Linked DNA regions of Homo sapiens: regions 1, 2, 4, 5, 6 and 7 are each linked to region 3. Evidence: promoter capture Hi-C in 16 types of primary human blood cells and fetal thymus (Javierre and others, 2016). All regions are on one chromosome and are shown on one strand. Each heading gives the region's core, a stretch centred on a gene start or on the middle of the fragment in contact. The rest is flanking DNA. Distances are from core to core; before and after follow the strand shown.

Region 1 (3,448 bases), core at 298-2,797, 340 kb after region 3:
TGGCTGGCTATTGAGTGAAACAGGCATTAAGCTAAAAATTATCAGTAACATTACAAATAATAAAATACTCAAAATTATTTTCTTTCTCAGAGAGTCCCTCAGATTTTAGATAATTTGGAAAAAAATATTCTAGGGGATTAATTGCTTTCTTGAACTTCTGGCCTTAAGTGACCTCTCCAGCTTGGCCTCCCAAAGGGCTGAGATTATGGGTATAAACCACTATACCAGTCCAAGGGATTAATAACTGCTTTTTTTTTTAATAACTGCTTTTTAATCCCCACAACTATCAATTGTAAGTTTGAGAAAGGGAATGTATACATACCATGCTGGCTGACAAGGTGAGTACTGAAGCAGATGATATCTCCAACAAAGGTAAGCTTGGTGTCTGGCTCAATGGCATGCTCTACAGCAACAGGAATATAATCTGCCATGCCTGGATGTCTCCGGTCCCAAAGCCCCACAAGTGTCAGCCCTCTGTTCACAGCCTGGGCCATGTAAGTATAGTTCTTATTCCCTGGTCCAATATGCAGCAAGTCATCTCTGCAAGTAGACATTAAAGGTAGAAATCTTTAAAAAGAGACAATAGTTAGAAAATAGTTCTGGAGAACACCCTACCACATTTTATATTCAACAGCTCAGAAGTTCAGAAGGAATTCCACAATAAAGAGTAAGTAAGTATGGGCCAAGGATCAGTCTATTACCTTCATACGTATAGTTCCCAGGAAGGCTTTTTTTTTTTTCCAGTAAAGCCTTTTGATAATAATACTCCAGTTAGCTCCCTATGGATCTTTTAGTGAATTAGAACTTGACAGATTTAAGATATCCTGCATTTTTTCTTAAGTGACAACTAATACCATTGCCTAAGTCTGGTCTTTTTTTTTTTTTTTTTTTTTTAAGACAGTCTTAATTGGTCACCCAGGCTGGGGTGCAGTGGCGCAATCTCTGCTCACTGCAACCTCTGCCTCCTGGGCTCAAGTGATCCTCCCACCTCAGCCTCCCTAGTAGCTGGGACTACAGGCACACGCTACCACACCCAGCTAATTTTTGTATTTTTGTAGAGATGGGGTTTCACCATGTTGTCCAGGCTGGTCTCGAACTCCTGGGCCCAAGTGATCCTCCCTCCTCAGCCTCCCAAAGTGCTGAGGTTACAGGTGTGAGCCACCCACCTGGCCTCACTTAAAAAAATTTTTTTTAACAAAAGAAAGATCAACTTCCAAATTCAGAATGTGAGAGGAATTTACTGGAGCTGCTATATAATACTAGCCTAATATGCAAGATTTCTACCATAGTGTCAATACCATTCCTTTGACTTCCATACCTGTTCAGAGCCAGATAAAGCTGGGTATTGTGTGTGTGGAATTTCTCTCCGATACTATTATAAAACTGAACAGTGAAGGTAAGAGACATGCCCAAGGGAAATGCTGACAGGGTCCTTCCTTGGGCTGTGTATAGCTTGGGTTGGCTGCTCACTCGCAGGTATGTCACCGGTGCTACCTGTGGGAGACAAAACCTACTGGTACAGAGAAAGATGCACTGGAGAAGTGCTGCAACCATATTCTGAGACTTATAATCAATGATAAAGAGTGATGTTTCTTTTCCATAGGAAATAGCTTTTGATGTGAGATGACTTAAGTCAGAGTGAAAAGAAATATGACAGCATAGCAGCATAGGAAATTCTTTTCTTTTTTTTTTGAGACAGAATCTCACTCTGTCACCCAGGCTGGAGTGCAGCGGCATGATTTTGACTCACTGCAACCTCTGCCTCCTGCATTCAAGCAATTCTCCTACCTCAGCCTCCCAGGTAGCTGTGATTACAGGCATCTGCCACCACGCCTGGTTAATTTTTCTATTCTTAGTAGAGATGGGGTTTCACCATGTTGGCCAGGCTGGTCTCAAACTCCTGACCTCAAGTGATCTGCCCGCCTTGGCCTCCCAAAGTGTTGGAATTATAGGCGTGAGCCACTGTGCCCGGCTTGAAATGGGTTTTTAATTTTTTTTTTTTTGAGACGGAATTTTGCTGTCTCGCCCAGGCTGGAGTGCAGTGGTGCAATCTCAACTTACTGCAACCTCCGCCTCCTGGGTTCAAGCAATTCTCTGCCTCAGCCTCCTGAGTAGCTGAGATTACAGGCGCCCGCCACAATGCCCGGCTAATTTTTTTGTATTTTTAGTAGAGATGGGGGTTTCACCATCTTGGCCAGGTTGGTCTTGAACTCCTGACCTCGTGATCCACCCGGCTCGGCCTCCCAAAGTGCTGGGATTGGCGTGAGCCACTGTGCCCAGCCAGGTTTTTAATTTTTAAAGCTGTGGGAATGTGAAGAGAAGCTGGAGCTTTATGAGGAAAGGACTATAATTCATCCATTTCATGCAGAGTGCTCAATATTTATGGTTAAATAATCAATTACTTATCAGGAACACAATCTATATTGTGTTTTCACACTGTAAGAGAGCTGTGATACAGTAAGTGAAGCCCGCGTTTGAATCATAGCTTTATCATTTCATAGCCTCATGTAACTTTTCTGGGTCTCAGGTTTCTTATCAGTTAACAGTTAGATGGGGATAATAATGCCTACCTCATAGGGCTTTTGTGGTAGTTAAAAGAGATAATATACATACAATGACGAACATAGTATATAGTAGATGTTTAATGTCTAAAATTTTTTTTCGTGTTAAGACTAACTTATCTCTGAGGTCTTTTCTCAATTTTTTAATTCTTGTAGCAAAGCTTAATTTTTTAAAAAGAAACAGATTGTTGCTTTGTTTTCCAGGCTGCAGTGCAGCAGTTCAATTGCAGCACAAAGCAGCCTCGAACTCCTAGGTTCGTGTGATCCTCCACCTCAGCCTCCCAAGCAGCTAGGACTGCAGACATGTGCCACCAAGCCCGGCTATTTTTTTTTTTTTTTCATTTTTTGTAGAGATAGGGGTCTCATTATGTTGCTCAGGCTGGTCTTAAACTCTTGGCCTCAAGTGATTCTCCTGCCTCAGCCTTCCAAAGTGCTGGGCTTACAGGCGTGAGTCACCCAGCCCAGCCAATTTTGATAGCAATCATTCTACACTCCTCCGATACCAGTCCTTTTGCCAAAGCTGCTAGGAAGACAATCATATAAATTTAGGCTGATCTGTTTTTTTTTTTTTTTTTTTTTTTTTGAGATGGAGTCTTGCTGTCGCCCAGGTTGGAGTGCAGTGGCGTGATCTTGGCTCACTGCAGGCTCCGCCCCCCGGGGTTCACGGCATTCTCCTGCCTCAGCCTCCTGAGTAGCTGGGACTACAGGCGCCCGCCACCTCGCCCAGCTAATTTTTTGTATTTTTAGTAGAGAAGGGGTTTCACCGTGTTAGCCAGGATGGTCTCGATCTCCTGACCTCGTGATCCGCCTGCCTCAGCCTCCCAAAGTGCTGGGATTACAGGCGTGAGCCACCGTGCCCGGCCAGGCTGATCTGTTTTATAACAAGG
Region 2 (3,792 bases), core at 996-3,495, 480 kb after region 3:
TCATATAAAGGCTCAACAGTAACTGCATCATGATGGGTGGAATGCCTGCCAGAACAAAATTCTTAAGAGTGTGAAATAGGTGGGTTAAAATTAACTTTTAGTGGAACATAGATTCTCACACTTCTTCCATGTTACATACTACCAGGTATATGTAAATGACACTTTTTAAAGAAGGAACATTGCTTAGGGATGCGATAATTAAACTGAGAGATTGATGAGAACTTTCCCAATGATCCCTTGAACAAAGTCCCAGAAATATCCCTCCCTCAATTTTTTTTAAAAGATTTTTATATTCTTCCCTCAGTATGCAGAAATACGACTGATGTGTTTCTAGTAATGAGAGGGGACTTTCTCATACTCTGAGGAAAGTTTCCTTCAATCCTAGAAACCAGGCTTCTGATATCTAGGATGGAAAAGGTGCCTAAATTATGAGGTGTGAGTCCAACTCAAAATACCAAAAACATTCATAAATATTTTTATTCTTATTTATTATTATGTTTTTGAGACCGAGTCACTTTGTTGCCCAAGCTGAAGTGCAGCAGGGCGATCTCAGCTCACTGCAACATTCGCCTCCAGGGTTCAAGCGATTCTCCTGCCTCAGCCTCTCGAGTAGCTGAGATTACAGGTGTCTGCCACTATGCCCGACTAATTTTTGTATTTTTAGTAGGGATGGGCTTTCATCATGTTGGCCAGGCTGGTCTTGAACTCCTGACTTCAAGTGATCTGCCTGCCCCGGCCTCCCAAAGTGCTGGGATTACAGGCGTGAGCCACTGCGCCCGGCCGAATGTTTTTATTTTAAATAGAGACGGGGTCTCACTATGTTGATCCGGCTGGTCTCAAACTCCTGGCCTCAAGTAATCCTCCTGCCTTGGCCTCCCAAAGTGCTGGGATTACAGGCGTGAGCCACCATGCCTGGCCTCATTAATATTTTTGGAGTGATAGAAGAAATGGCTTTCAATGCTGGAAAGATGCCTTGCATCACCCTCACGGTCAGGAAACACACACGTCACACTGGATCATCTTACAAGCTCACTTTCCTTATACTTCCTCATAAAATGAGAGGTGAATTTATACTCGGAACAAACCTCATTGCTTCTCCTAGGAGATGGCAAAGGGGTATCTACTCCATCTAGGATGAATGCACTGGCATCCTGAAGCTCACTTCGGTTAGGTTCTCTCATACCTTAGGCAACCACATAACCCATCATTGGGTCCTCTCACACCAGAAAATCATGTCTCTTCATCTTCAGTCAGGAAGTCATTATCCCGGAGTTGTGTGTACCCCCTGTCCTCACACTTCAAGCGGGTACCCTTTTATAAATGGGGCAATTTTGATAATACAGACAGATCTCATCTCCACCCACGATAAATCTTCTCATATTCCCAGAAGTTTACACTTCATAGTCTCTGGGCCTCACTTTCCTCGTCTGTGAAATGGGAGTAATAGTACTTACTTCATAAGACTGCAAAAAGCGAATGAGTTAACACATGTAAAGTGCTTAGTTAACCCCCAATACTTGGCTGTTGTGTTTTAAGTCCTTCTCACATTGAATAGCTCATCTATAGTTAGTGGGGACCCTCGCACCCCAAGTTTTCCTGTTCCTACAGAAATTTCCTCAGATATGGGGAACTTCCTCTTACTCTAGTTGTTTACATTGGAAGTCATCAGTACCTGTGGCCTCCAACACAGGGCTTCCCTTTACCCTGACGGCTGCTCATAGTGACCACCCCTTCCCAACACACACAGAGAAGAGGCCAGTCCCACATCCCGAGAATTCCTCACACGTCTGGAAGATTGTCACACAGCTGGAGGATATACCACATGAGTAGGACACGCCACACCCAAGGGTCTGCTCCTCGCCACCTTCACTGACACCACACTCTCCTCCCCTACCGGCTAGGCCCCTTCACGCGGCCCCACACGGTATTCCTGTGGGATCTTACAGAGGGAACCCCCCTCACCCTTACTGGATGGTAGTGAGGGTGCATATCCTTGTCACCCACCACCCCTCACCAAGTGTAGCAGCCCCGCTGGGCCTCCAGCAGGAAAGGCACCCGGCCTGGCTCTCGGCCGAAGGGTAGCAACACCTGTGGCACGTTAAGTTTGTTGGCCAGGGTCCCACGCAAAACCAGAAACAACAACAGGAGGCGGTGTAGACGCAAGAAGAAAAAGAGCCCGAAGCCTCGGCGTCTTGATGACGCCGGACAGCCAGTCATGGCGACTGCCAGGTCTCGGGTTCCCGCTCAACTACAGCCGGCTCACAGCTCCATCAGCCAATCCACAGGCGTGACGTCAGCAGAGGGGGATGGGACCTGCTTCTTGCTCGGATGTGTGGGCATTTTTAAATGCAGTCCTTCAGCAAGCCAATATAATGGAAACTTTTGGCACAAACCCAGCTAAAACACCTCAAACTCTCTTAAAGGGCTTTCCTAAATACTGGATGGCAGACCTTTTTAACAGTAAGGAACAAGCAGAAAAGTCTAAAAAAAACCCTTTAATTTCTTCCAGTTTTAATTTCTTCTGTTGCACACTGTTTATCTTAACACCACACCCTCCGCCCGACAAAAAAACTTTTTGCAATGATTTCCAGTTAGCATTGGTCCATGCCTATCAACGGAAAATTGTGCAGTCTCTGGGATAAACAGCTCGACTTTGTCAAGGGAACCGTGTATTTTTACTAGAAGTCAGATTCACGTCCGGCCTCCAGGCCAGAATGCAGGAAATGCCAGACACTGGCGTCTCAAAAGCAGCTTTCAAAGTTATCCACTCACACAGCCGGCCTCTAAGCAAATACTCTTGAGAGCACTTGTTGTTTTCTCCAAATATCCAAACAGAATATAAACTCAAAGCTGTTTCAGTACAGTTGGTTAAAACCACGCATTTATAGTAGTGATCAGCATTATATATTGTTTTAAGGAGCATAAATCCATAGTTTATAAGGATTGATATGGTTGTGAAGGAAAATGTATATAGTTCAGCCTGAGATGTCAGTGTTAACCTATAAAAGGCCCAGCACATTAAGTGTTCTTTCTAATCTTCATGTTTACTCTGACAATACTTATCTCCATTTTACAGATGATAAAACTAAACATTTGCTCTATATTAAATCCTGTTGCTCCAGCTGGGTGCGGTGGCTCACGCCCGTAATCCCAGCATTTTGGGAAGCTGAGGCAGGTGGATCACCTGAAGGTCAGGAGTTCGAGACCAGCCTGGCCAACATGGTGAAGCCCTGTCTCTACTTAAAATATAAAAAATTACCCGGGCATGGTGGCAGGTGCCTGTAATCCCAGCTACTCGGGAGGCTGAGGCAGGAGAATCTCTTGAACCAGGAGGCGGAGGTTGCAGTGAGCCGAGATCGAGCCATTACGCTCCAGCCCAGGCAACAAGAATGAAACTTCATCTCAAAAATAATAATAATAAAGAATAAATCCTGTTGCTACCACCCACAAAGATGCTATTTTTAACCCAAACCTCATAGCTTCTGTGGAGAAAGCACATTTAGTTTTAATAAATAAAAGTCAAATAGGTCTGAGGGTTGGAGGGACTGGTTCTTTATTTCAAAAAGACACTTGTCAATATTCAGTATCAAAACAGTTGCACTATTGATTTCTCTTTCTCCCAATCGGCCCCAAAGAGACCACATAAAAGGAGAGTACATTTTAAGCCAATAAGCTGCAGGATGTACACCTAACAGACCTCCTAGAAACCTTACCAGAAAATGGGGACTGGGTAGGGAAGGAAACTTAAAAGATCAACAAACTGCCAGCCCACGGACTGCAGAGGCTGTCACA
Region 3 (3,700 bases), core at 1,180-3,679:
ACTAAACTATATTTCTAGTCCAGTCATTTCTTCTGAGCTCCAGCTCCACTAGTCCGAGGCCTATCAGACACTTCCACTTGATTATCTATAGGCACCTCACATCCAATAAACTAAAAGTATCATCCTTCCAAAACCTTCTTCAGCTTCTCAGCTAATGGGATCAACATCACCTAGATCTGTTATTTGTATAATGTCCTCACTTCCCAAAGTTCAACTGATTCTACTTACAAAACATCTCCCCATCTGCATCTGCTGTCTACCTCTACAATCTCTGGAATCCGCCATCTCCATTACAGGACAAGAACATTATGCCTGTCACACAAAAGCTTTCATAATCTTCCCTCCACTGCCCTCTTCCCTGCCTCTCTTCCTCAGTCATCCTACATGCACACACCTTACATCCTAGATCAGGGCTGAAAACACAAACTCCTACTACAGCCAGGCAGGTAATGCACCTGAGTGAAGCAGGGTGCCTAGGAACCATAATGAACTAGACTCATTTCAAGGAGATAATGGATACTTGCTCTGGTTAATTGCTCATGGAGGGATGCAGGACAATATATTGCCAGCTCTTCCAATATTTTAAGGAAAGTCAGAAATCCAGGTTGGGCCTGGTGGCTCACACATGTTATCCAGGAATTTTGGGAGGCCAATGCAAGAGGATCGCTTGAGCCTAGGAGTTCAAGACCAGCCTGGGCAACATAGGGAGACCTCCATCTTTGAAGGAAAAAAAAAAAAAAGTCAGAAATCCAAATATTCATGTACCATCTTTTTTTTTTTTTTTTTTTTGAGACGGAGTCTTGCTCTGTTGCCCAGGCTGGAGTGCAGTGGCGCAATCTCGGCTCGTTGCAACCTCTGTCTCCCGGATTCAAGCAATTCTCTACCTCAGCCTCCCAAGTAGCTGGGATTACAGGCGGCCGCCACCATGTCTGGCTAATTTTTGTATTTTTAGTAGAGACGGGGTTTCACCATCTTGGCCAGGCTGATCTTGAACTCCTGACCTCATGATCCACCCACCCTGACCTCCCAAAGTGCTGGGATTAGAGGCTTGAGCCACCTTGCCCGGCCCCATCTTATGATATTTAAGTGTGGGGAATTAAATACAATATACATAAAGAGAATGCAAGCCAAAGCATGCCTGCCATCTCAAGTTGGCCTATCGACCACAATTTGCTCTAGATAATAAGAATATTCAAGTCTCCTAAAATTCCATATATAGGAAATGTACTTCAACATTCTGCTCTGTCTACACAGAATACCTTTCTCATCCTTCCATCCTCTTGAATTATTTCTTTTTTGGAGATTTTCTGGCCCCAATCCAAGCAGAATGAATAGCCCTCATCTGAGTCCTTTAGCAATTTATCCATGTCTCCCCTGTAGTGCTTAATGCATGTTGCATTACGGTTATTTGTCCCAAATGGAGCTCCTCAAAGGCACGGACTATATATATTCATCTTTATGCCCTCGGCACCTAGTGGGTGCTTAATGCACCGAAGGTTCTCTGGAAATGTTTGCTGACCTGAAGTTTGGTGATCTTATGTCCTGCTTAGGCGCAGCGTTGGAGAGGTTGGCGCTGCAATGCCGTCAATAACCCCCGATGACCATTAGAGGGCACACTGATTCCACAGCAGTCTGCACCGGGGGCCCAGCTGTCAAGTGCTCCAAAACCCACTCCCCAATTTACGCCTCCAGTGGTCATCTCCCACAGCCTTCATTTTAACAACCCTCAACACAAAACAGTCATTTTCTTGGGGCGTCCCTGAGGTGTGAACCTCCTCCCTCCCAGACACCCACCCACTCTCCCCATCTTCCTACAATTTGGGCGCTAAAGATTTAATTCCTCTCTGACACCAGATCATTTTTTCACAGCTAATCTGCACAGTCTGGAAGGTGGCAGGGAGGGAAAGAGAGGGAGATCATAGAAGGAATGGGTAACAAGCACTCTGGGCTCACCTTCAACTTTAACGGACTTTCCAGAAACCCGTCACCTTCCACCCCACACCCAAACACACACATCCACGCACTCACTCAGTTTCCTGCCAGGATCCCAAACCAGCACACCTTTCCCTCTTCCCCCGAGGAGACCAGGTAGGAGGCGAGGGAAAAGGTGGGGCGCAAGTGGGCCCCGGTTGCTTCCACACACACCCTCCGTTCAGCCGTCCTTTCCATCCCGGCGAGGGCGCACCTTCAGAGGGTCCTGTCCTCCAAAGAGGTAGGCGTGGGGCGGCCGAGACCGGGGAAGATGGTCCACGGGGAAGCGCGCGGGCTGGGCGGCGGGGAGGAAGGAGTTAAAGATCCTGGATTGGCTCTTCTGTCACTGAGTCTGGGAGGGGAAGCGGCTGGGAGGGAGGGTTCGGAGCTTGGCTCGGGTCCTCCACGGTTCCCTCCGGATAGCCGGAGACTTGGGCCGGCCGGACGCCCCTTCTGGCACACTCCCTGGGGCAGGCGCTCACGCACGCTACAAACACACACTCCTCTTTCCTCCCTCGCGCGCCCTCTCTCATCCTTCTTCACGAAGCGCTCACTCGCACCCTTTCTCTCTCTCTCTCTCTCTCTCTAACACGCACGCACACTCCCAGTTGTTCACACTCGGGTCCTCTCCAGCCCGACGTTCTCCTGGCACCCACCTGCTCCGCGGCGCCCTGCGCGCCCCCCTCGGTCGCGCCCCTTGCGCTCTCGGCCCAGACCGTCGCAGCTACAGGGGGCCTCGAGCCCCGGGGTGAGCGTCCCCGTCCCGCTCCTGCTCCTTCCCATAGGGACGCGCCTGATGCCTGGGACCGGCCGCTGAGCCCAAGGGGACCGAGGAGGCCATGGTAGGAGCGCTCGCCTGCTGCGGTGCCCGCTGAGGCCATGCCGGGGCCCCGGCGCCCCGCTGGCTCCCGCCTGCGCCTGCTCCTGCTCCTGCTGCTGCCGCCGCTGCTGCTGCTGCTCCGGGGCAGCCACGCGGGCAACCTGACGGTAGCCGTGGTACTGCCGCTGGCCAATACCTCGTACCCCTGGTCGTGGGCGCGCGTGGGACCCGCCGTGGAGCTGGCCCTGGCCCAGGTGAAGGCGCGCCCCGACTTGCTGCCGGGCTGGACGGTCCGCACGGTGCTGGGCAGCAGCGAAAACGCGCTGGGCGTCTGCTCCGACACCGCAGCGCCCCTGGCCGCGGTGGACCTCAAGTGGGAGCACAACCCCGCTGTGTTCCTGGGCCCCGGCTGCGTGTACGCCGCCGCCCCAGTGGGGCGCTTCACCGCGCACTGGCGGGTCCCGCTGCTGACCGCCGGCGCCCCGGCGCTGGGCTTCGGTGTCAAGGACGAGTATGCGCTGACCACCCGCGCGGGGCCCAGCTACGCCAAGCTGGGGGACTTCGTGGCGGCGCTGCACCGACGGCTGGGCTGGGAGCGCCAAGCGCTCATGCTCTACGCCTACCGGCCGGGTGACGAAGAGCACTGCTTCTTCCTCGTGGAGGGGCTGTTCATGCGGGTCCGCGACCGCCTCAATATTACGGTGGACCACCTGGAGTTCGCCGAGGACGACCTCAGCCACTACACCAGGCTGCTGCGGACCATGCCGCGCAAAGGCCGAGGTGAGACGCTGGCACACCCCGTCCCGCCGCTTAGCCGCAGGGCCTCCCCTCTGACCTGCCGGAGGCATCGGGACTTTCTCTCTCATCTGGGGGCACTCTTCTTTCTCCTCGCCGTTCTTCATTCTACTT
Region 4 (3,358 bases), core at 226-2,725, 330 kb before region 3:
AACCTCTGCCTCCCGGGTTCAAGTGATTCTCCTGCCTCAGTGTCCCAAGTAGCTGAGACTACAGGCATGTGCTACCACACATGGCTAATTTTTTGTATTTTTAGTAGAGATGGTGTTTCATAGTGTTAGCCAGGATGGTCTCGATCTCCTGACCTCATGATCTGCCCGCCTCAGCCTCCCAAAGTGCTGGGATTACAGGCGTGAGCCACCACGCCCGGCCAAATGTGGTTTATTTATATGTGTGTGTGATATATATAAATATGTATATATAGAGAGTAATAAATGATGTCAGCATTTAGAAGACGTACATAACTCAGTCAACCAATATTTTCCAAATGATCAATATATGAAGTCACAAAGTTTGGATAAAAGATCCATTAAATTTTAAGAGGGACCAATTGATTCTAATGTAACAGAGAACAAATAATTCATTGATATGGTTTCAGACTTTACGTTGCAACTAACCTTTGAGAAACCATCACTTGTTGGGTTTTGATGTAATATGAGAGAAGAATATCCACAATTATATATTTAAAGGCTATTAATGTATTCATCCCCTTTGCAACTACTTATCTGTGGGAGATTGGATTTTCTTCAAATCTTCAACCAAAGCAACATACAGCAATACCTTGTATGCAGAAGTAGATGTGATAAACCAGCTGTCTTCTTTGAAGCCATACAGTAAAAAGGTCTGCAAAAATGTGAAAAAAAAACACTCTTCTCACTAGCTTTTGACATATATATATAATTATTTTTAATTGTTTAAAAACGTGGTAATACGTAATGTGTTTATTAATGGTACTTTAAGTGAGTTAATAAATCATTTTAAATTTTTTAAACTTTTAATGTAGTAAATACTGATACATCTAATCCACAAAAGCTCTTTGGGATACTCAATAACTTCTATGAATACATATAAAAGGGTCCAGAGAGCAAAAAGATTAAAAACCTGGGGCCAAAGGAATCCCACAGGCTGTCCTGATGCAGATAGGCCACAAGGTGGCAGCATGCGCCCTCTGATAACTCCGGAGTCACCTTTCACTCACTAGGAGTCTCTGAGCAACCTCTTTTATCCATCACTCCCTTCCACTTCCTTCCTTACCTTCATGCTTCTGTGTGGCACGTCTTTTTTTTTTCTAACTAGCTTTATCCACCAACGCCTTCATAATTACAGGGCATAGCCATCTCCTAAGCATAAGTTCTGGCCAAACCAAGCCAGTCATTCATTTTATTCTGCAAACATTTGTCAGGTGTCACTCATATGCAAAGCTTATCATCCAGGGATGAGTACATTGAGAACACTGCTCTCAAGTAGTTAATAATATAATGAGGGAGACAGATCCAAACGCCAGTGATTATAATGCCTGCTGAGTGTGAAAACCCTTTATTCTTTACAAAGGGCTGTGGACTTCAAAGGGAGTCCTGAGAGCAGAGGATGCCAAAAGCCAGATGCTGAGATACTCGCCAAAAATTTCTGCAGAGATCTGGAACCTAGGGACATAGTGAGCGCAAAAGCCAGGTTCCCAAGAGATCGGGGAGGAGAAAGGGTTGGAGCAACAGAAGCCAGGCAACAAAAGGGAATGCCAGCTTTCTCAATTTTGAAGGTGGCATGTCTGAGAAATTAGGAGGATGATGAGCAGAGGCAGCCAAGGTGGAGACAGGGGGAGAGGTCCAGACTTGGGGAAGCTTAGGTTGAATGTCTAAGAAGCCAGATCATTGGAGGGTCCTCACTGTGGATGCTGGAGCAGCCCAGCATGGGGGCAGGGAGTGCGGCTGCTCTCAGCAGAGGGCCTCAGAGACCTCAGGATGGCCAGTCAAGGGAGGCCACAAGGATGCCAGGGGTGGTCAAAGCTTGATGTGGACTGAGCCCAAACGTGGTAGAACAATGGTCTGAAGCTACCCGTGGATAGCTTCTGTAAGTCATCCTAATGCACTAGAGTCTAGAATGAGCACTGGGGAAATGGGGGATGTTAGGGCGCTTGTGGTTAGGAGACCCGTACCCAGAGATCTCCAAGGAAGAGCACTTGGGACTCCCAGCAAGGAGGAAGACAGGGAGTGGAGGAATAGGCAGCAGGCTGTGCGCAGCCTGAGTGGGGCTGGGCCTCAGGCATCAGAGTCCCTGTGAGGAGAGGGACCTGACTTCACCTGCAGGTGGAGCAAGTAAGCCAGGAGACAGTGTCCAGGGGCCATGAGGCTAGTAGTAGTCATGAAGCCCACCAAGAGTCCATCAAAACTTGGAATCTGTGCTAGAAATGACCTAAGGGTCAGCTGTCCCAATCTCCTCATGTAATGGATAAGAAAATGGAGGCCCGAACATGGAAATCACTTCTAAAGACCACCAGCAAGTCTGAGAAAGCTAAGGACTAAAACCAGCTCAGTCCCTCAGTCCGGGTCCCACTGTGTGCCTGCTGTAACACCCCCATTACAACACAGGAGGGGTAAAGCTCCCTGAAAGACCACAGTGGGAGCTGCAGAGAAGGGAAAGACAGACCCGCAGTGGGTCCCAGGCATCTGGGAAAGAGCACAGTGATTTGATGGTAGCTGCAGGAACCTCTGCCTGCTTGTTTGTTTACTTGCTTGGTTGTTTGTTTGTTTGAAATGGAGTCTCACCCTGCCACCCAGGCCAGAGTGCAATGGCGCGATCTTGGCTCACTGCAACCTCTGCCTCCCAGGTTCAAGCGGTTCTCCTACCTCAGCCTCCTGAGTAGCTGGGATTACAGGTGCGCACCACCACACCCGGCTAATTTTTTGTATCTTTAGTAAAGATGGAGGTTTCACCATGTTGGCCATGCTAGTCTCGAACTCCTGACCTTGTGATCCACCCGCCTCGTGCTCCCAAAGTGCTGGGATTACAGGCGTGAGCCACCGTGCCCGGCCACTTATTTGTTTTTTAACCCAAAAAGCCACACCCTTTTCTCCCAGTGAAAACCTCGAGTCATTGTACAGAGCCAGGAAAATTGGCCCACCCACTTCATGCCCTAGCAGAAGGCTCCGACTTTCCCTGGAAAATCAGTACCCAGAGGGGAAGACCCCCATCCCACCATCCCTCAGTCCAACCTCTGGCCTCGGCTGGCAGTGAGGAGGCAGGTGGGTGTCGGCCACCTACTGATCATGCCAGGAATTGTCTGCTCCGGTCAGAACCAGAATGGCTCAGCCCTGGCCTCACCTGCGCCTGGGCTAGCCTGGAACCTGGGGGCCTGCAGTGGCCTTCTAAGATGGGGGCCCACTGTCAGCATCAGATCCCCCAAGTGCAGATTCCCGTCTGTTTTGAAACCCTGACCAGCTGCTCATTCCCACCCACTGCTGAGCCTTCTCTCCCCCAACTCCCTATTTTACTTTCATTCTGAATCAGCACTAA
Region 5 (3,755 bases), core at 133-2,632, 460 kb after region 3:
GCGTGTGCCTGTAATCCCAGCTACTCGGGAGGCTGATGCAGGAGAATCGCTTGAACCTGGGAGGTGGAGGTTGCAGTGAGCTGAGATCAAACCATTGCACTCTAGCCTGGGCGACAAAGCATAACTCCGTCTCAAAATAAATAAATAAATAAATAAAAATTAAAAATATATATATACAGAGAGAGAGAGAAAGAAAGAATTGGTTTTGCTTGTATTCTTAAAAACTAGTGAACTGAGTAGCAGGAGGGGTCATCATTAGTAAGAAAAAGATTAACGTTAATGGAGCCAATACATACTTTAAAAGCTCAATGTAACTTTTAGGCCAGGTGCGGTGGTTCACGCCTGTAATCCCAGCACCGTGGGAAGCCGAGGTGGGTGAACCACGAGGTCAGGAGTTCGAGACCAGCCTGGGCAACATGGTGAAACCCCATCTCTACTAAAAATGCAAAAAATTAGCTGGGCGTAGTGGCGGGCTCCTGTAATCCCAGCTACTCGGGAGGCTGCGGCAGGAGAATCGTTTGAACCTGGGAGGCAGAGGTTGCAGTGAGCCGAGATCATGCCACTGCACTCCAGCCTGGGCGACAGAGTGAGAATCCATCTCAAAAAAAAAAAAAAAAAAAAAGCTCAATGTAACTTTTAGTATCAACAGAATATTAAGCTTTCAGTCGATGAATTGAGTTTCTCAAGAAACAACTTTTGCAAAGATCATTGCAATGCTCATTCAGGTCCCTTCTGGTAAAGTGTCTTAACTTGCCCTTCAAAAGCTAGTAAAGCTTTAATTGTTTTATTTATTTAGTTATTTTTAGAGATGAGGTCTCAGCTTGGCACAGTAGCTCACACCTATAATCTCAGCCCTTTGGGAGGGAGGCCAAGGTGGGAGAATCACTTGGGACAAGGAGTTCAAGACCAGCCTGGGTAACATAATGAGATCCCATTTCTAACAAAAAAAAGAGGCCGGGAGTGATGGCTCACGCCTGTAATCCCAGCACTTTGGGAGGCTGAGGCAGATGGATCATGAGGCCAGGAGTTTGAGACCAGCCTGGCCAGCATGGTGAAACCCCGTCTCTACTAAAAATACAAAAAATTAGCTGGGCATGGTGGTGCACACCTGTAATCCCAGCTACTCGGGAGGCTGAGGCAGGAGAACTGCTTGAACCCAGAGGTGGAGGTTGCAGTGAGCCGAGATCATGCCACTGCACTCCAGCCTGGGTGACAGAGAGAGACTACATCTAGAAAAAAAAAAAAAAAGAGCTTGATATGGTGGCAGGAACCTGTAGTTCCAGCCATTCAGGAGGCTGAGGTGGGAGGATCACTTGAGCACAGGAGTTCAATGTTGCAATGAGCCATGATCATGCCACTGTACTACAACCTGGGCAACAGAGTGAGACCCCCATCTCAAAAAAATAAAAATAAAAAAATAATAAAGATATGGGGATCTTGCTCTGTTGCCTAGATTGGTCTCCAACTTCTGGCCTCAAGCAATCTTCCTGCCTCAGCTTCCAGAGTAGCTGGAATTACAAGCGAGAGCCACCATGCCTGGCTAGTTGTTGTTTTAATAGAGAATTCAGATGCCTATTGGCACCGAAGCTAAGCAGCCTAACTATGCCATTAATATGTTCAAGATATGGGGCTATTTCTGTCTAATATTAGTTAAGTACAGCAATTAACACTTTACCACAAAATCTAAAAACACAAGTATTTTTCATATGTAATGTGGAGTTGCTGATCTTGTCAGCAGAAAAGATTTGGGAAATGTGAGTCATAGGAGAAAAAATAAATCACCTTACCTGTCACTCTCCCTTGAACCATTTTTGCAACTTGGTATTTAATATATGTTCCTACTAAGAGATAAATATCATGGGATGGTATAAGAAATATATTCTCCAAAACAAGCAGACGTATTAAGGCTGCTGCCACTTTCTAAAAGAGGGAGGGAAGGAAAAAAAAAAACAGTTTCCATGGACGGAACCCTCACAGTCATCTTTCTTGTTAAAAGCTTACTTCTTTTAAACTTCTTTTAAAATTTTTTATAAAGATTTTTTTAAAAGCTTTCCTAATCACAAGTCATAATTTCAGCTAGCCTTAAAAAGTGATTATGAATCTTAATACCTTATTAACTTTCTAAGATACTCAGACTTAGAACAAAAAAGTCTTCTAAAAGAAAAAAAGTAGGTAAATAAAAAGTCAAGTATGCTGAAATGAGAAAAGGTAAGACTCAATTGTAGAACACAGAAATTCTTTTAGCCAACCTCCAATTAACTGACTTGCCAGATTAAGTTACTTTCCACTCTCTGTTGAACACATTGATTTTTATGAAGATTTACCCAATGCAAGGTTGGTAGGCTTCTCTCTAGGAGGTCCACACACTCATGTTCTTGCCATTGAATTAAATGCTTACCAAAAAACATTTGTTTTTCCCAAACCTATTTATGCAAGTTGTGCTTATAATTATAATCACATTAAAACAAAAACTATACATGTGAAAAGAGAACTGTTATTTCTATTAAAAATTTAAATGTGTCAAAAAAAGTTAAAGGCAAGCTGCTAATATATACTATCAATTAGGTATAAGTGAGAAATGTAAAATATTAGGGAAAATCCTTTAAAATATAAATTTTTGCACACAAATTCTTCCTGCATCTAAATTTTTACTTGACTAGAAATTAGGGCCGGGTGTGGTGGCTCACGCCTGTAATCCTAGCACTTTAGGAGGCCGAGACAGGTGGATCACTTGAGGCCAGAAGTTTGAAACCAGCCTGGCCATCATGGTGAAACTCTGTTTCTACTAAAAATACAAAAATTAGTTGGGCATGGTGACACACACCTGTAATCCCAGATATTCGGGAGGCTGAGGCACAAGAATCACTTGAAACCCCCCCACCCCAAAAAAGGAAGAAATTAGAAACTGTAGTTTATTGGAGAAAGTGTATGTAGATTTCAAATCAGTGAACTCATGGTCAAAGAAAGGCCTTGCACCTACATCAAGGATTGGTGAATAAAATGTAGTTATATATTTTAAGAGAAAATGCCAGTCACATTTGTAATTGTAATCAGGCAATAAAATGTTTAAGATAATTGTTTAATGCTTACCTACTTCAAATAACTTTTTCAATTAAATGACCAACTATTGGCCCAAATCACATCAGACTAGAGGGCTTCTACTATAGATAAACATAAAAAACTATATTTTCCATAGGCAAGACTATTAAATGAAAAATTTATAACACTGGCCAGTTGTGTGGGCTCACGCCTGTAATCCCAGCACTTTAGGAGACTGGGGCAGGCAGACTGCTTGAGCTCAGAAGTTTGAGACCAGCCTGGGCAACCTGGTGAAACCCTGTCTGTCTCTACAAAAACAAACAAACAAACAAAAAAAAAAAAAAAACAGGGCGGGTAGTGCATTCTTGTAGTACCTGGGCAACAGAGTTAGACCATATCTTGAAAAAACAAGTAAGGAAAATTTATAGCACACAAACTTTTTACCTTATAGAATGGTTCATGAATTCGAACTTTTACAACAGCAGCACCAGTTCTAATCCCAGACACTAAAATCACATCTCCTTGTTTCTCCTCTTTTTCCATCTCAGCTATATATATTGGGGGAGCATATTCTGCTTCGGAGTATTTAAGAATCCTAAAGACATAAAATAAAATGTGTTTCTAGCAGAATTAAACGAAGGGTTCTTCCAAAAGTCCCTAAGAGACTTTAAACATAGTTTCTTCAATGTCTATAGAATGTAAAACACTTTTGACTG
Region 6 (3,376 bases), core at 756-3,255, 500 kb after region 3:
TTCTCTAAGAAACAAGGAAAGAAGGAGGCAGCCTGCAGGTGGATGGATAAATTCTAATGGTAGGAAAACCTCTTTCCATGACTGCCTCCCCGCTACCTTTACTGGTGGGAGGTACCCTGACTGCAACAGTATACAAGAATTTAATATGCCCCGCACACCACCCAGTTCAGATGCTTATCCAAGTGCCTGGTAAACACGATCTCTCTTCTATAGCCCAGATTGTGCCTGAATTCTATTACCCTGATTTCTTCCTGGCAGGCAGGAGTTGGTGCAGCTATAGAAACAGCCTGGGCCACTAGCTCCGATGAGGAAGAATATAGACCAAAAGACTCCTTTTTAACCATCAGGACTGGCACAAAAACTTCCACATACAAACATGAGAAGCTGAAGAGACTAGGAAGGGAAGCAGAGGGCTGGGGCTACAATCTAGCCACCAGGCAAAGAAAATCGAGAAGTCAACATAAGCTGAAATCATTAAGAAACCATTTGTGCCTCTAACTACACTACTCAAAACACCACAAAGACAAGTATTCTCTGCTTCTGCCTCTTCCAGAAAAATAGATGTTCTCTGTAACAACACACATTTCTCCTCACAAACCCAACAAGGCCATGGATCAAGAGCAAGTCAGGCTATCAGGCAAGACCTAGGAGACACTGCTAGTAAAATGACTTACCCCCCTCAGACGAAAAATACAACTAGATTTAGAGGAAGCTCATGAAATGTAAGACATCATGCAGCTCACCAGTAGTTACCCAAACTGGAGTAGAAGATAACAGGCTATGGGGCGGGGGTGTACAGTTGCCATGACAGCAAGCTGGCTCAGGCAGTTTCTCCCACAAATCAGCATTTACAATAGAATTCTTAGCAAGGCTGAAAAGGGAGAGGGGGAAAACACATCTTGGTGCCCTCCTAAGAGCATGCACACATGAACAAGCCTGTATCAAAAGCAGAACCTGAGATGGGAGTCCTAGAAAAAGCTTCAGAGACCCCCTCCAGGGTGGAGTGGTAGGGAATGGGACCTTGCCTTTCTCTTTTCTCCTAGCACAGAGGATCAGTTCTCTTTACAATGAAACAAAAGCCTGCAGAATCAAGATCTGATACTTTGTTTAAAGGAACAAGGAAGACAAGCTGACTTTTCCCTCATGAGTCTATGCACAGTGCCTGTCCCTTTCAGGTCAAATAATACCAATGGGTACCAAGAGATTGAACAGGCCTACTTTTTGCAGACCAGGCTACCTGTGGCCCTGGGAAACGTTAAGCTCTGCACTTTCCTAATCATCTTAGGTTTTAGCATGCCCATCCAGATGCGGTTTTGGTGTTTCAGCTGACCTATCTCTGCCCAGTGTGGAGGATATACAGTACTCTGTGGTTCTTCCCTTCAAGTAATAATAGGATTCTCCACTGCCCAGGAAGCAAAGATCCTGGGTGAGGGATTGGGGAAAGAGTAGAATGCCCCAGCAACTCAGTCACATTACCAGATGGCTGACAACACCTTCGGCTATCCTCCACTCCAAAGAGATTTCCCAAATATGTCAACCCCTCCAGGCAAGAAACTGACAGTGTGATGGTACTCTCAGGCAGAACAGGGCCAAGGACAGAAGGGGATTAGCCTAAATCTGGCTTTCTGCCACACTGGGGTTTCTCTTATTAGATAAAAGCCACAGATAAAATTCAAATGAAAGAGTATCAGAAAGTTAGGCTTGAGCCCTGTGAGTAAAGGACTATTTGAGTTCACTGTGCTCACAAATGCATTACCCAGGGAGATACCGTGTCCTTGGGGAATTTAAACTTCACCAAAGGGGAGGCAAGTTGGAAGGGAGTAGAGCTATCTGCCCCACAGTAAACAAAGGCGGAGCCTAAGCAGGGGTAAAGGGCTATCTGCCTCTCCCCTGTGAGTGTGTGTTCTAGTACTGGGGAAAGAGAAAGGAAAGCAAAGCAACCAAAGAAAGGTTGCTTAGTCCACCAGGCCCACGAATAGAAGAGAACCACACAACAGTCAAGCATTCTAACCTCTCCAGAGACTAGGAATTTAGGATTAAGGCCAGAATCAAAGCCCACTCCCTCGGTAGTACTCTTAAGGTTTTTGTTATTACTTTTTTTTTTCTTTTTGAGGCAGAGGTAGTGTGCTGACCTTACACTCCCGCAGTTGACCCCTCACTCCCCCAGTGCCGATACTCGCCCAGGCTGGAGTACAGTGGCATGATCCAATCCTGGTTCACTGCCACCTCCGCCTCCAGGGTTGAAGCAATTCTTGTGCCTCAGCCTCCCAAGTAGCTGGGATTACAGGCATGCGCCACCATGCCCAGCTAATTTTTTGTATTTTTAGTAGAGATGGGGTTTCATCAGATCCACAGGTGGACCTCAGATCCACCCGCCTAGGCCTCCCAAAGGGCTGGGATTACAGGTGTGAGCCACCGCACCCAGCCTCTTAAGTTTTTTAGACTAGAAAAAAATTAAAAAGAGAAAAATATCAGGGACAATTAGGAGAGAGTTATTAAAAACAGATAAGGTGAACTGTACATTTATAAATGGTTAAAATGGTAAATTTTACATGTATTTTTATCACCACTACCACAAAAAAAAAGAGATAAGGAAAAAGACTGCATTTAAACATTATGTTGCCATCTGTTTCCATTTAGACAGAAGTAAAAAGGAAATACAGAACTGAAAGTAAATTTGACAAGGTGCTACATTATAAAAGACCAATTTCCAGGCCGAGAGCAGAAAAGAAAGATGGATCCTAGAACACCAGTGTCTCAGTTTTAGACTCATCTAGCTTCCCAACAAGGGTGGCTTGGATGTTCACACAAAGTAACCAGGAAAATAATTAAGTGACAATCCCACTAACAGCATGAGATACCATCAGAGAGTGCAGTTTCCCGCTCCAGAGGAGGGAGGAGTCTGCAAAACCCACATTCCAGAATGCCTTAAGAGGATAACAGGTAGCCCAAGCAACCCCCCTCCCTTCCCACAGGTGTCTCCTCCTCAGTAGGGGTTCAAAGTTCAGCAGAGCAGCAGAAAGTCAAAAGATTAAGCTTCTTCAGGCTGGGGAGTAGAAGAAATGATTTCATCAATATTTAACTATAACTCTACTTCCCCATTCTGAGGACTTCCTCACTAGACCTCAGCTCAATAAGCAAATTTGGCAGGCTCTGAGTGAAAGTAGCTTAAGAAACATCACCCCAGGACAGGCGCAGTGGCTCATGCCTGTAATCTCAGCACTTTGGGAGGCTGAGGCAGGCAGATCACTTGAGGTCAGGAGTTTGAAACCAGCCTGGCCAACATGGTGAAACCCCATCTCTACTAAAAATAAAAAAATAAAATAATAAAAAAAAATCGCCGAGTGTGGTGGTGGATGCCTGTAATCCCAGCCAC
Region 7 (3,727 bases), core at 454-2,953, 330 kb after region 3:
CCTTCTTAGTATTTCTCTATTAGTCTGGTCTAGACCCTTATCAATGCATGCTTGGATTATTGCAATTGGATAATTATGGATAATTAGTCTGGGCTAGACCCTTACTAGTCTGGTCCAGACCCATTAGTCTGGTCTAGACCCTTATCAATTCATGCTTGCATTATTGCCCCTTCACAGGTATCCTTGCCTGTTTTTTGTTTTTTTTTTTGAGATGGAGTCTCACTCTGTTGCCCAGGCTGGAGTGCAGTGGCGCGATCTTGGCTCACTGCAAACTCCGCCTCCTGGGTTCACGCCATTCTTCTGCCTCAGCCTCCCGAGTAGCTGGGACTACAGGTGCCCACCACCACGCCCGGCTAATTTTTTTGTATTTTTAGTAGAGACGGGGTTTCACCATGTTAGCCAAGATGGTCTCGATCTCCTGACCTCGTGATCCACCTGCCTCAGCCTCTCAAAATGCCAGGATTACAGGCGTGAGCCACTGCGCCCGGCCTTCTTTTTTTTTCTTTTGAGACGAAGTCTCGTTCTGTCGCCCAGGCTGGAGTGCAGTGGTGCGATCTCAGCTCACTTCAAGCTCTGCCTCCCTGGTTCAAGTGATTCTCCTGCCTCAGCCTCCCACGTAGCTGGGATTACAGGTGCCCTACTAATTTTTGTATTTTTAGTAGAGGCAGAGTTTCACCATGTTGGCCAGGCTGGTCTTGAACTCCTGACCTCAAATGATCTGCCCACCTCAGCCTCCCAAAGTGCTGGGATTACCATGCCCTGCCGTTATTCCTCTTTTCTTTCTTTGAGACAGGTTCTCCATCTGTTGCCCAGGCTGTAGTGCAGTGGTGTGATCACGGCTCACTGCAGCCTTGAACTCTTGGGCTCAAGGGATTCCCCCACCTTGGCCTCCTGAGTAGCTGGGATTACAGGCATGAGCCACTGTGGCCAGGCTATTCCTCTTTTCTTTTTTTCTTTTCTTTTCTTTCTTTCTTTCTTTTTTTTTTTTTTTTTGAGATGGAATCTCACTCTATCGCCCAGGCTGGAGTGTAGTGGCATAATTTTGGCTCACTGCAACCTCCACCTCCTGGGTTCAAGCAGTTCTCCTGCCTCAGCCTCCTGAGTAGCTGGGATTACAGGTGTGTGCCACCACGCCCAGTTAGTTTTTGTATTTTTAGTAGAGACAGGGTTTCACCATGTTGGTCAGGCTGGTCTCAACTCCTGACCTTGTGATCCACCCTCCTCGGCCTCCCAAAGTGCTGGGATTACAGGCATGAGCCACCGTGCCCGGCCTCCTCTTTTCTTTTTCTTATCCATTCTACATACTGCCACTAAATCCTTAAAAACTGCCTTCATTATTTATTTATTTATTTATTTTTTTGAGATGGAGTCTTGTCTGTCGCCCAGGCAAAATGGAGTGCAGTGGTGTGATCTCAGCTCACTGCAACCTCCGTCTCCTGGGTTCAAGCAATTCTCCTGCCTCAGCCTCCCAAGTAGCTGGGACTACCCAAGTAGCGTGAGCCACCAGGCCTGGCTAATTTTTGTATTTTTCGTAGATTCGGGGTTTCACCACGTTGGCCAGGCTGGTCTTGAACTCCTGACCTCAGGTGATCCACCGCCTTGGCCTCCCAAAGTGCTTGGATTACAGGTGTGAGCCACCGCGCCCAGTGTTTGTTTGTTTGTTTGTTTGTTTTTTGAGATGGAGTTTTGCTCCTGTTGCCTAGGCTGGAGTGCAATGATGTGATTTCAGCTCACCACAACCTCTGCCTCCCGGGTTCAAGTGATTCTCCTGCCTCAGCCTCCCGAGTAGCTGGGATTACAGGTATGCAACACCACGTCTGGCTAATTTTGTATTTTTGTATTTTTTTTTCTTTTTTTTTTTTGAGACAGCGTTTTGCTCTTGTTGCCCAGGCTGGAGTGCAATGGCGTGATCTCAGCTCACTGCAATCTCCGCCTCCCGGGTTCAAGTGATTCTCCTGCCTGAGCCTCCTGAGTGGCTGGGATTACAGGCATGCGCCATCACACCTGGCTAATTTTGTATTTTTAGTAGAGACGGGTTTCTCCACATTGGTAAGGCTGGTCTCGAACTCCCGACCTCAGGTAATCTGCCCACCTCAGTCTCCCAAAGTGCTGGGATTACAGGCATGAGCCACCGCGCCCCGCCCTAATTTTGTATTTTTAGTAGAGATGGGGTTTCTCCATGTTGATCATGCTGGTCTTGAACTCCCAACCTCAGGTAATCCACCTGCCTCAGCCTCCCAAAGTGTTGGGATTACAGGCGTGAGCCACCGCACCTGGCCAAAAACTGCCTTCATTTTTATTTTATTCATTTATTTATTTAGACAGAGTCTTGCTCTGTCACCAAGGCTAGGGTGTAGTAGCATTATCATGGCTCACTGCAGCCTCAACCTCCTGGGCCCAAGTGATTTCATCTTATTTTTGGAAAAAAAAACAAACTAAACCAAAACTAAAACAAACTTCTCTAGGGCCCTATATTGCCTGGAATGTCCTGTTCTCTTCACATCTAGTTCACTCTTAGTCATACTTCTAAAGGTCATTCCCTCTGTAAAACCTTACTTAATTTGGCTCTAGGTTTCATATAGATACTCCTCCTTTCTTTCTGCTTTATTTTTATTTATTTATTTATTTCTCTGAGATGGAGTCTCACTCTTACCGCCCAGGCTGGAGTGAAGTGGCACGATCTCGGCTCACTGCAACCTCCGCCTCCTGGGTTCAAGCAATTCTCCTGCCTCAGCCTCCCGAGTAGCTGGGACTACAGGCATGTGCCACCATGCCCGGCTAATTTTTGTATTTTTTAGTAGAGATGGGGTTTCACCATGTTGGCCAGGCTGGTCTCGAACTCCTGACCTCGGGTGATCTGCCTGCCTCGGCCTCCCAAACTGCTGGGATTACAGGCGTGAGCCACCATGCCTGGCCTCTTTCTGCTTTCTTACCATGCCATATATATATATATATATATATATGTATATATATAAATATATACATATACATACACACACATACATATGTATACACATATACATATATATACACATATACACATATGTCTGTGTGTGTGTGTGTGTGTGTATATATATATATATATATATTTTTTTTTTTTTTTTAAATGGAGTTTCGCTCTTTCACCCAGGCTGGAGTGCAATGGCATGATCTTGGCTCACTATAACCTCCTCCTTCTATTTCAATCGATTCTCCTGCCTCAGCCTCCCAAATAGCTGGGATTACAGGCGCCCGCCACCATGCCTGGCTAATTTTTGTATTTTTAGTAAAGACGGAGTTTCACCATGTTAGCCAGGCTGGTCTCAAACTCCTGACCTCAAGTGATCTGCCCCCCTCGGCCTCCCAAAATGGTGGATTACAGGCGTTAGCTACTGCGCCGGGCTTATATATATATTTTTTTTGAGACAGATTTTCGCTCTTGTTGCCCAGGTTGGAGTGCAATGGTGCCATCTTGGCTCACCGCAACCTCCACTTCCTGGGTTCAAGTGATTCTCCTGCCTCAGCCTCCCTAGTAGCTGGGATTACAGGCATGTGCCACCATGCCTGACTAATTTTGTATTTTTAGTAGAGGCCAGGTTTCTCCATGTTGGTGAGGCTGGTCGTGAACTCCCGACCTCAGGTGATCCACCCGCCTCAGCTTCCCAAAGTGCTGGGATTACAGGCGTGAGTCATCGCACCTGGCCTATATATTTTTTCTATTTATTTATTTATTGAAACAGAGTCTCAC

The links. The method cuts DNA at HindIII sites, captures the fragments that hold promoters and counts their contacts. A CHiCAGO score of 5 or more calls a contact.
Region 1: a contact is called between a fragment that was not itself captured here and the fragment with the promoter of NPR1 in region 3, in 2 of 17 cell types (neutrophils and M1 macrophages). The highest score is 5.1, in neutrophils.
Region 2: a contact is called between the fragment with the promoter of NUP210L here and the fragment with the promoter of NPR1 in region 3, in 1 of 17 cell types (M2 macrophages). The highest score is 5.9, in M2 macrophages.
Region 4: a contact is called between a fragment that was not itself captured here and the fragment with the promoter of NPR1 in region 3, in 1 of 17 cell types (erythroblasts). The highest score is 5.3, in erythroblasts.
Region 5: a fragment that was not itself captured here is called in contact with the fragment with the promoter of NPR1 in region 3 in 1 of 17 cell types (naive B cells); the score reaches 6.3 in naive B cells.
Region 6: a fragment that was not itself captured here is called in contact with the fragment with the promoter of NPR1 in region 3 in 6 of 17 cell types (M0 macrophages, total B cells, naive B cells and 3 more); the score reaches 11.2 in M0 macrophages.
Region 7: a contact is called between a fragment that was not itself captured here and the fragment with the promoter of NPR1 in region 3, in 3 of 17 cell types (neutrophils, naive CD8 T cells and M2 macrophages). The highest score is 5.9, in neutrophils.

The regions. Positions count from the first base shown.
Region 1 is chr1:154,021,804-154,025,251 of GRCh38, forward strand. It overlaps NUP210L (nucleoporin 210 like), which reads right to left. Exons shown (of 40, transcript NM_207308.3): 31 at 1,319-1,494; 32 at 323-540. Among named protein-coding and RNA genes, the nearest start is that of RPS27, 33 kb to the left of the region's middle. The HindIII fragment of the contact is 2,345 bases long and covers 376-2,720 here.
Region 2 is chr1:154,152,828-154,156,619 of GRCh38, forward strand. NUP210L (nucleoporin 210 like) reads right to left here and starts at 2,246. Exons shown (of 40, transcript NM_207308.3): 1 at 2,015-2,246; 2 at 1-45. The coding sequence starts at 2,217. It also overlaps a transcript of TPM3 not described here. RefSeq lists enhancers at 1,579-2,079, 2,080-2,580 and a silencer at 3,187-3,364. The HindIII fragment of the contact is 10,459 bases long and covers 1-3,792 here.
Region 3 is chr1:153,676,259-153,679,958 of GRCh38, forward strand. It overlaps NPR1 (natriuretic peptide receptor 1), which reads left to right and starts at 2,430. Exons shown (of 22, transcript NM_000906.4): 1 at 2,430-3,571. The coding sequence starts at 2,851. RefSeq lists enhancers at 1,667-2,648, 2,649-3,629 and a silencer at 3,171-3,230. The HindIII fragment of the contact is 5,247 bases long and covers 325-3,700 here.
Region 4 is chr1:153,351,623-153,354,980 of GRCh38, forward strand. No RefSeq gene overlaps it. Among named protein-coding and RNA genes, the nearest start is that of PGLYRP4, 4.5 kb to the left of the region's middle. RefSeq lists silencers at 1,054-1,103, 2,129-2,178. The HindIII fragment of the contact is 417 bases long and covers 1,268-1,684 here.
Region 5 is chr1:154,136,319-154,140,073 of GRCh38, forward strand. NUP210L (nucleoporin 210 like) reads right to left here. Exons shown (of 40, transcript NM_207308.3): 5 at 3,484-3,634; 6 at 1,788-1,920. Among named protein-coding and RNA genes, the nearest start is that of NUP210L, 17 kb to the right of the region's middle. The HindIII fragment of the contact is 1,223 bases long and covers 772-1,994 here.
Region 6 is chr1:154,177,440-154,180,815 of GRCh38, forward strand. The region is part of intron 2 of TPM3 (tropomyosin 3); the gene reads right to left. Among named protein-coding and RNA genes, the nearest start is that of TPM3, 13 kb to the right of the region's middle. RefSeq lists an enhancer at 2,754-3,376. The HindIII fragment of the contact is 2,058 bases long and covers 977-3,034 here.
Region 7 is chr1:154,003,879-154,007,605 of GRCh38, forward strand. The region is part of intron 35 of NUP210L (nucleoporin 210 like); the gene reads right to left. Among named protein-coding and RNA genes, the nearest start is that of RPS27, 15 kb to the left of the region's middle. RefSeq lists a silencer at 3,321-3,582. The HindIII fragment of the contact is 5,364 bases long and covers 1-3,727 here.